Linked DNA regions of Homo sapiens: region 1 is linked to region 2. The links are contacts of gene promoters, found by promoter capture Hi-C in human tissues and cell types (Jung and others, 2019). All regions are on one chromosome and are shown on one strand. Each heading gives the region's core, a stretch centred on a gene start or on the middle of the fragment in contact. The rest is flanking DNA. Distances are from core to core; before and after follow the strand shown. Region 1 holds the start of JUP (junction plakoglobin). Region 2 overlaps DNAJC7 (DnaJ heat shock protein family (Hsp40) member C7).

Evidence for each region. Contacts are between HindIII fragments. The study calls those that stand out against the background at their distance.
Region 1: the fragment with the promoter of JUP here is called in contact with a fragment that was not itself captured in region 2 in 2 of the 25 tissues and cell types used here (adrenal gland and mesenchymal stem cells).

What each region holds. Positions count from the first base shown.
Region 1 is chr17:41,784,171-41,789,278 of GRCh38, forward strand. It overlaps JUP (junction plakoglobin), which reads right to left and starts at 2,541. Exons shown (of 14, transcript NM_002230.4): 1 at 2,418-2,541. RefSeq lists silencers at 1,833-2,045, 2,210-2,509. The HindIII fragment of the contact is 40,774 bases long and covers 1-5,108 here.
Region 2 is chr17:41,986,686-41,991,825 of GRCh38, forward strand. It overlaps DNAJC7 (DnaJ heat shock protein family (Hsp40) member C7), which reads right to left. Exons shown (of 14, transcript NM_003315.4): 6 at 3,579-3,697; 7 at 2,719-2,872; 8 at 2,047-2,211; 9 at 1,134-1,225. Among named protein-coding and RNA genes, the nearest start is that of CNP, 22 kb to the left of the region's middle. RefSeq lists enhancers at 1,259-1,759, 1,760-2,260. The HindIII fragment of the contact is 3,975 bases long and covers 90-4,064 here.

The DNA.
Region 1 (5,108 bases), core at 1,291-3,790, 200 kb before region 2:
AGGTGGCTCCAGGATGGGAAAAAGGTTGGCAGCCCTAGCCCGACCTTTTTCGTTCCTATGCACTGCATTCTCAAAGCCTCGGCCCTGGCAGCCCAAACAGAGGCTCCAGAGGGAATGGGGTGGAGCCAGGGTGCAAGGGAGGGGTGGAGTGGGGGTGGGAGGGCTCAAGTCACCCAAGCTGGGGCTTGATCTAGCAAGAAATGACTAACTGGGTCCTACCTTCTCCTCCTCCCCCGCATCCCCCAGTCCAGTCAGTGGCCAGTTTTCACCAAGCACCTCCTAGCAGTACTTCCTCAGTATTATCTTTTCATCACAGCCACAAACCAGATTAGCTAAACTAATCATGTAGCCAACATAATTACAATGCCCTCCCCTCCTCCACCTTGGCACAGAGAAGAGGGAAAGCAGGTTATTTTTGCCCAAACTCCCTGCTCCTGTTGCTCCCCAGAGGTGCAGAATCCCATCCCCCGGCAGAAAAGGATCTGAGTTCCCACACTGACTTCCCCCTAGCACAGGGCTGAGCGTGATCCCCACCCAGGATAAAGGGGCTGAGTCTGGGCCCCCAGCCTCACTCCCCCATCTACAACAAAGAAAGAGGTGGTAGACTCTTCCCCTCCAAGCACTCTCGATCCCCGCCCCCCACAATCTTTCTCCCACCCCCAGGACTGAGAGAGAACCCAACTGTTGTATTCTCTCTCTGTTCCCCAACGAGGCTGGGCTCCAAATCCTGCAAAAAGACCACATTTCAGATTTTTTTTTTAAACCGGGGTACAAACCCTGATCAAGATCCCCAATTCTGGGTGGGGGGGGGCGGTCTCAGGAAATTGGGAGCAGGGAAGGCAGGGGGCCCGATGCAGCTCTGCCTGAGAGAGTCTAGCATTGAAGAAACCTTCCCCCAAAAAGCCTTCCTGCGGTCTCACTTTCCCTGTCAAATTCTTTCAGGAAAGCGGGTGGGAAAGGTCTGTGCAGGCCTCCAGAAAGCATGCACCTTCACAATTCAGAAATCAAATGGAAGGCAAGTCCCACAGCCTCATGCGCTTCTGCCTCAATAACCAGCCAGCTAAGTAATGTGGGGGATGGGGTAGAGGCAAAAAAAAAAAGACAAGAACAACCACTCCCCCCACCTTCCTCAGTTTGGCCCAGCCCTGCCCCACCCCCATTCCTGGGGAGGGGGCAGAGCTTGAGAGACAACCACTTACGCAGGCCTTGTCTGAGGGGGTGTGGTGGTCCCAGGAGGCAGGAAGAGAAGGAAGAAGCTGCTTCCCCTCTCAGCACTTTCCACCCCCCACCCCGGCCCCTACCTCAGGCCCCTGGGGCCCAGCGAACAGGATGAATGTGGGGGCAGGGAAGACAGGGTCGGAGCCCAGGCACCGGCCCAGGTTCAGCCAGGGGCCGGCTGGGGGAAGGGGTTTTGCACCAGGAAGGACCCCCTAAGCCTAAAGGAAGTTTTGGGCAAGGAGACGGGAAAACCCCCAGATAAAGCTGCTGTGAATACTTCCTCCTGCAAAGTTTGTTTTGGGTGATTTTTTCCAACAATAAGAGGTTAGAGAAGACGGGTCCTGTTCCCCTACCAACACTCTGGCAGCCACAGCTACTGGAAACTGGGCCAGGTGACCCTGAATTCTTCATCCGTGCACAGACCCCACCCCCCAGACCCCAGGGCGAGCCACGGGTGCCAGACACCAGCTGGACACTGAGCCGAGCCCTGCACCCCCCAGTCACTCCATCCCACCTCCGCTGAAGAAGCCAGAGCCGGGCTCCCACCGGCGTGGAGGGAGGCGCCGCAGGTAGTATCGACGAGGCTCTGGGAGCTGGAGGGCAGGGCCTCTGGACTCCGTGCGCTCACCTGCTCGGCAGGTGGGGCCAGAGTCGCTGGGAAAATGTGCGCTCGGCCCCCACAGTTGGGCAAGCTGGGCGCAAACAATAGGGCCCCACCCAGGCCTGGGGGAGTAGGGAGGGAGGGAAAGCGAGGATGACGCGTGGGGTGGGGTGAGGGTGGCCCCAAAGAGACCAGCGGCAGCAAGTTCCCCAAACGGTAAATTCCTGACTGCAGCGTGAGCCCTGGGACGCAGTCGAAGCAGAGCAAAGTCTCCCCCGCCAGCCCAGGGCGAGAGTCAGGGACGCGGCGTCGGGCGAGCTGCGCGGGCCCCGGGGGAGGCGCGACCCCGGAGGCACCTGTCCGGATCCCTCCCCGCCTTGCTCAGATCTCTGGTTCGCGGAGCTCCGAGGCGCGCTCGGCCCGAACCGCGCGACCCCCAAGTCGCCGCGCCCAGGACCCCAGCGCGCCCCCTGCCGCCGGTGCAGGGTGGCGCTCGATGGCACCGGCCCTCACCTGCCCAGGGACGGCTGGGACCGGCCCCGCGGCCGCTCGCCACCCCTCTGTCCCCAACGATACCTGCGCCCCCGATAGCCCGCACCTGAGTATGGGGCCTGACCGGGCCGGGTCGGGGTCGGGCCGGGGTGGGAGCCGGCGCGGACAGCGAACTGAGCTCGGCGTGGTCGGGCGGCGGCTGCTCCGGACTCTGGCCAAGGCAGCAACTCAGTAACCGAACAAAAGGCGAAGAGACCTGACAGCCAAGCCACGCCCCTCGCCACCTCGAAGCTCCGCCCCTGGGGGAGACGCCCACCCTCTGGTGCGAGCTCACTGGCTATCTCGCCTGACTGTCCCGTGGAGGGGCGGAGCCTCGCCTCCAGTCCTCTTCCACGGCCGCCTCTGTTTATCCGCTTGCCATTGGCCCCGGGGACTGCCAGTCGGCTCTAGGGATGGACTCTAACTTGAGGTCTCATCCTAACATTGCATCTATTGGCAGATAGAAAGTTACTTCCTCCTGATTGGACAAGGCTCTGTCAGTAAGACTAAGGAAAAAACCAATGGAAGGGATGGGGTGTGTCTTGCCCCACCCTTGCTCTGAGCAGGTGAGACTCATTACTCTCCCCTTCCCCCTACCTGTCCAACAGGTAAGTCATAGGGATACCAAGGGAAGGGACAGACGCCTTCACCGGCCAGCCAACTCAGCGTCAGGCATGATGCTTCTTTGGGCTTATTCATCCTTGCCCCAAAGTAGTAATCACATATTTGTATAGCATTTCATAGGCTTTGTGCTGGGGTGGGATTTTTTTCCCGAAAGATGGAGTACTCCTGGGATTTAGAATTAGAAGGCCAGGTTTGGTCTTCTCCCACTTGGTATGATTTTAGGCAAGTTACTTCACCCTGTTTCTCCTCTTCTGTAAACTGGATACATTAGCCATATCTACCTCACTGGAGTATGTGGGGATTAAATGAGGTCAGGTTTGTGAAAGCACTCAGAAACTGCTAAAGGTTAGAAATTTAAATTAACGGTATGTTTTTTTTTAATTATTGTGACAGCTCTGAAAAATAGTTAGGATGAGAAAACGACCCTCATTGTAAAGATGAAGAAACCGAAGTTCAGAGAAGTCACAAAACTACAAAGTGGCACACCCCAAGCTAGAACCTCCTTCCTCTCATTTGAAGGACCATCAAACCAGCTGTTCCCCTCATGGAAGAGGAGCATAGACATAAAATGTCAAGGCAATGGGGAAGGGGCAGAGAAAAGGCACAAACACTTGGAGGAGAGACAGAACAATTAATTGGCACAAAAATACAGTATTGGTGTCAGGAGGCTTTGGTGGGCTTGGAAACATCAAGCAGCAGATCTGAAGGAAATCCAGCCCTGGCATGAAAGAAACGGGGCAGGCCAGGCGCAGTGGCTCACTCCTGTAATCTCAGCATTTTGGGAGGCAAAGGCGGGTGGATCACCTGAGGTCGGGAGTTCAACACCAGCCTGGCCAATATGGTGAAGCCCCATCTCTACAAAAAATACAAAAAGTTAGCCGAGCGTGGTGGCGGGCAACTATAATCCCAGCTGCCTGGGAGACTGAGGCAGGAGAATTGCTTGAACCTGGGAGGCGGAGGTTGCAGTGAGCCGAGACCATGTCACTGCACTCCAGCCTGGGCATGACAGAGCGAGACTCCATCTCAAACAAAAAAAAAAAAAAGAAAAGAAAAAAATAAACCGGGCAGCACACCCCTCTGCGATAGGAGAGCCTGGGGTAGAGATCAGAGAGAACTTCTCGGCCAGGCGTGGTGGCTCATGCCTGTAATCCCAGCAATTTGGGAGGCCAAGGTGGGCAGATCACTTGAGGTCAGGAGTTCGAGACCAGCCTGGCCGACATGGTGAAACCCCATCTCTACTGAAAATACAGAAATTAGCCAGGCATGGCAGCGGGCACCTGTAATGCCAGCTACTCGGGAGGCTGAGGCAGGAGAATGGCGTGAACCCGGGAGGCAGAGGTTGCAGTGAGCTGAGATCATGCCATTGCACTCCAGCCTGGGTGACAGAGTGAGACTCTGTCTCAAAAAAATAAAAAGGACTTCTCACAGGCAGCTTAAGAAGACAAGGGCACTTCCTTTCTGTGGTTGATGACATGAATGCTGCTCGTGGCTGTATGGTGTGCCAAGGGCCCTACAAACATTCCTTCATTCAACACTTGAGTATTCATTGTCAACTGTATGTTAGGCACTGGTGAACACAGAAAATAAAACCTGGTGACACAGGAAATAAAAATGATCCCAACCTTCAAAGAGCTCATAGAAGGATAAGCAGAAGCAGCGTGTGTGGGTGGGTTTTGGAGGAGTGGTGGTTTAGAAAAGGGTCCCCCATCAACAAAGCTCTACAGCCCCAAAGCTAGCACACAGGATGGGCTGGATGAAGGTACCTTAGCAGCAACCTTGACCACTTTCCCCACCAGAGAAAAGAATGGTAGCTGAACATTCTCCCTTCTGAAGTTGCGCCATCCAAAAGCAGGGCCAGGGAGATACGGACATCCCTGAACTAGTGGCCATCCCATAACCAGGGCCACCGCCCTTTGCCTGTTTCCTCAACTCTCCATCCTCCAGCTTACCTCCCTATCTTTATCCCTGCCTTACCCCTGCCCCATCCACCTGCTTGTCACCCTGTCACATAGAGCTGTAGCCAGGCCACAGCTGGGGAAGGAATGGGCTCACAATCCTGGACTGCTGCAGCTGCCAGGGTTTCATTTCTTCCCCCTTCTGCCCACCTCCCACCTCCACACATGCACACACACAT
Region 2 (5,140 bases), core at 827-3,326:
AAGATGGAATGACTGACAGTCAGTCTCACAGAAGTTATAATTCCCTGTATGTTTCTGTTGGACAGACTTAGTCATCAACTTAGAAATTCACTTTTAAAAAAAGCATCACACACAGCAGCAGTTTTCCTATTTTAAGTGAGATAATTTTGAGAAAACTAAGTGGGAGGTAGTCCATGAGATATTCTGTACCACTGATGAGACAAGGAAGCTTAAACTACTGGCTCATCAGGCATCAGTGACAGCATCTGTTCTTTGGATATGACATTTTATAATAAGGAGTGGAGCAGGTGCTGGAGGATTAGTATACAATAAATACATCTTCTCTAAGAACTTTAAAGACGGGAAGTTTTTCTCCGCCTAGAGAATAATCTGAAATCAGAAGAGATGGATTTCTGAGAAAGATTTCTCCTAGCCCTGTTCCTATCTGGAGAAAACCAGCTGGTGGGTCTAAGAGTAAGAGGAGCAACCATGCCAGGGAGCACCCTGACTCTGGGGCAAATGTGAGCATTAGAGGTAGGCACATCCTGGCTCATAATCACCCTGTCAGACACAGAGTGCCCTCCACTCAAAACACTCAAGCAGAGAGTAGCCATCCAGGGTGTTTCAAAAGGAAGTTCCTTTATCCTGGGAGGCTGAGCCGGATTACATCTCTTCCAACTCTAAGATTGTCTTCCCTCGCCCAGAACAAACAGGATGAAGTACAACTCTCAACTGTCTCCAAGAGTTGTTTTCTCTTCCAAGCACCATACATTCATTCAACAAAACATTTATTCAGTGAGCACCTATGTGTCAAGCACTGTGCCAGGGTAGAGCATAAGTGTACAACACAAAATAAAATCTCCAAAGGAAATGGATTTAAACTTTTTAACAAAAGGAATTTGGGTCAGGCATCAGAGGAAACTTACTGACCGTGAGGGGCGTTAGACACAGGCATGGGAGACTGAGGGAGCTTGTGCAATCTCCTCCGCTGGAGGTCTATAAAGATAGTCTAGGGCTGGAACAATCCCACCTAGAGGCAGGGGGAAGGACCAAATGACCTCACAACATCTCTGGGTCTGCTTCGTCATCCACAAGGCAATTCCCCTGAGGCCAGCGGCAACTCCCTCTTCCCCCTACCCATCAGAGGCACTTACCACTGAGCTCTTCTCAAGTAGGCTTTTATGTAAGTGTCATCAAGCTTCACTGCATTTGTGCAGTCTTCTATTGCATCATCTAGTTTCCTAAGCTTCAGGAGAGAGAGAGCAATCATACTTCACACCTTTGGTGACTGAGGGAGCCCAGAAGCTGTGAGCATGGCTTCAAAACTCTAAGAGGATCAGTCATGCTGGCCCCTTAAATGTCATATTAAGTTCTAGTTCTTTGTCACCAGGGCTATGGACAGCAACTTCAAAATTGATTTCTCTTGTATATGATACAAGCCAGGCACATCTGTCTTCAAGGATAAACTACCTTTACCATTCCATGTTAGTGCCCAATGAAAACATGAAAATAGTAAGGCTGGTTCCTGCCCTCCTTTTTTCCAGAGGTCACCTGCAGGGATCAGAAATCACTCTGATTTTTAACTGCTAGAATTCTGCAAGGGCAAGGAGTCTACTTTTTGTTTCTGATGTTGGGTAGGGCCACAAAAGCACTCAGGCCATTTTCAACCATGCATGGTGACCATCAATTACACTGGAGAAAAACAAGCTTGCCTCATACTCTTCCTCCAAATCACTCCTAAAAAATAAATGATCACTTGCATAAGCAAAACAACAAAAAAGCAACAGTAGGTGCTTAAGATTATCCCACAGACCCTAGCCATTCTCTTACTGGAGGAAAGGGACCTTAATGAACAGGTGAGAATATCCTTGCAAATTGTCCAACTGCCCTCAAATTCCATAGAGATGACAAAAGCTTGCCTCTTGGAAGGGAGTTCCTAACAAACTATTAACCATAACAACTTTCCCTCTTTCATCTTGCTTACCCTCACTAGGCAGATTTCCCAAGACCCTTTGATGTCCCTTAAAAATATTTCTATAGGCCCCAAGATCTAGATCAAGAGCTTACCTTGGAATTAACCGTACCCCGATTACAGTAGAGTTTAGCATTTGTTTTTATATTGTTGGGGTCTATCCCCAGGGCTTCTGTGTACAGTTCATATGCTAGTTTGTAATTTCCTTCCTTAAATGCTTTATTCCCATCTTCTTTCTTTGCTTTGAGTGCTTTGGCATTCTACAGAAAAAAGCAAGGGGAGGATCGGTTCATATCCACAAAGCCTCAGACCATTGCACAGAGAGGCCAGACTCTATTTTCAAGTTCTTTGCTTCCAGCAGTTCAGCATCACAGAGCCCCGCCAACCCCCAATCTGGGCTATCTGTTGCTCATTTGAGCTTCCTACAGAGTGGACAGGAAAAGAGTTACCAAAAATACCAATGAGACCTATGTTACTGGGTCTGCCTTCACTTCTCAGGACAAGTATTACTATCTATCTTCACTGAGGGGAAAAACAAAACAAAAAAACCCTCTTAGATATTAAAGGCATCCGACCCTATATGATCACATCTACCTTTAGGTAAATACAAGTAGTCCTGAAACCATTTCTAATAAAGACCAAGCATCCTTGCAAAGCAGGAGGAAAAGCTATCACATTCCTTGTGATTCTAAAACCTTCCACTCTAGCCATCTTAAAGGTCCCAAAAGGAAGCTCTTTCCCAGTTAGGTCTGGTGACTAGAACTTACTCTGCAGGCAATGCAGGCCTTCTCGTGGTCAGGAGCCATCCTGAGAGCCTGTACGAAAAACTGAACTGCCTTCTCAATACAATCTTCGTAATAAAGGCAAAGACCTCGTACATACAGAGCATCTGCATTGGTGGAATCCATTCGTAGAATGTCACTGCAATAGTCAGAAAAGGGCACATTGAGCTGTGCTTTAGAATGTCCCCACCATTACTACCATTTGTGGCCAGTTTTCCTCCTTGACCATGTGTCTAGCATTCAAAATATCCAAAGGTAGACAGATTCCCAAGAACTGTTCCCAAACTTTCCCCAAATAAACCACCTATAATTATCTTTAATACACATCTTGTGTCTTACAATCCTTATTAAACTAGAACAGGGTTTGGCAAACTACAGCCCACAGGGCCAAATCCTTTCTGCCACTGGTTTTTGTAAATAAAACACTATTCAAACAGCCACACCCATTGGTTCATCTATTATCTAGGGCAACCTTTGCACTGCAATGGCAGAGTTGAGTTAGTTGCAACAGAGACCCTGTGGCCTGCAAAGGCTAAAATCTGGCCCTTTGCAGAAAGTGTGCCAACCAGTGGAGTAGAAGGAAAAGGACTACCTTAAACAAACAAACAAAACCACAAAAACACAATCTGTTCTTTCATATATAGCTCAAGTACCTGCTATACTACTATACTCCTGTATACCCTACGGGTTTTCAAAGCTGGTCTAATCTTTGACTTTAAGTCCCAAGAGGGTCTGATCAGCCCTAGCTGGCCTACTCTGGGGACCATATCCTGTGGTGAAGCTGCCGGACACCATCAGTCCAATGGTATCTGGCATTTTAATGTCCAGCTAGCCTGACTGCATACCTAGCCACAGACTGTGCTTCTGGATAACGACCCAGCATTGCTAAACATTCTGCCTTGAGGATTTTGAAGCGATGGCAGGCAGGGGCAAATTCTAGGGCACGGTCCATGCAGAAAACAACCTGTAGGGAAGAAGAAAACAAATAAGGCTCTTCATCAGGGACTCCAGAAACATCTTCACTTTAGTTTAGTCACAGGTAACAGACTCAAAACTCAATGAGGTCTTTGGGTCCACTTCTAAGTAATATCAAAGTTTAAAAACATACCTAATTCATTAAATAAAAGCACTGAAATGAGGACAGCAAAGGCTCCAGATGATAATGAGGACAGTAAACATTTACTGGGTACTTTCATATATGAACCCATTTAATCCTCACAAGAATTTTATGAAATAGGCAATATTATCACTTTTTTTTTTTTTTTTGAGATGGAGTCTCACTCTGTCACCCAGGCTGGAGTGCAGTGGCAGGATCTTGGCTCACTGCCACCTCTGCCTCCTGGGTTCACGCCATTCTCCTGCCTCAGCCTCCCGAGTAGCTGGGACTACAGGCGCCCGCCACCACGCCCAAGCTAATTTTTTTTTGTATTTTTAGTAAACACAGGGTTTCACCATGTTAGCCATGATGGTCTTGATCCTCGTGATCCGTCCTCCTCAGCCTCCCGAAGTGCTAGGATTACAGGCGTGAGCCACCACACCCAGCCTTAAAATAGTTATTTTAAATGGCTCTAAATAGGCTACATCAGATTACTATTCCCAACATGCCACTATACAAACCACAAGCCAAGGAGCAATCACACACACAAAAAGGTGGGGATTAATTTACTCTTTCAGCCTCATAAAGCATCTCCATATATTCTGTTTTTCTCTTTTTACTAGTTTGTCCTCTGAGCTTTCAGTTTTGGTTTAGCTGCTATTTATTCCTGGGAGAGCCTTGCTGAATCACATTCACGCCGAGAATAAATGAACCGAAGGACAAATCTGGAGTTAAGGGACACCTATTCCCTCTAAGAATTTGGCCATGGGGGTCAGGAAGAGATAAACTCTGAAAACTTACAAGCAGAAAAATTCAAATTCCATCCACAGGAGACTGGTTAGTTAACATGGACATTCATATAATGGAATACTATATAGTTCTAAAATAGAATGAAGAAGCTCTTCATGTACTAATATGGAAAGACTTCCAAGAGCTACTCAGTGATTTTTTTTTAAAGGTGCAGACCTGCCATAAAGCATACTACCTTTCACGCTAAATAAAGGGAGAAAATCAAGGATCTTTATTTTATATAAGTACAACAAAACTAAGGAAGAAAATAGAAGACATAAGAACAGTGGTTAGCTTAGGGGAGTGAGAACTGGGCGGAGAGAGGACAAGTTTGAGGGGACACTCATCACTGAATATTTTTCATACTTTCTAACTTTTGTTTGTTTTGTTTTTGAGATGGGGTCTTGCTCTGCTGTTCAGGCTGGAGTATCAGTGGCACAATCATGGCTCACTGCAGCCTCGACTTCCCAGACTCCAGTGATTCTCCTGCCTCAGCCTCATGAGTAGTTGGGACTGCAGGCA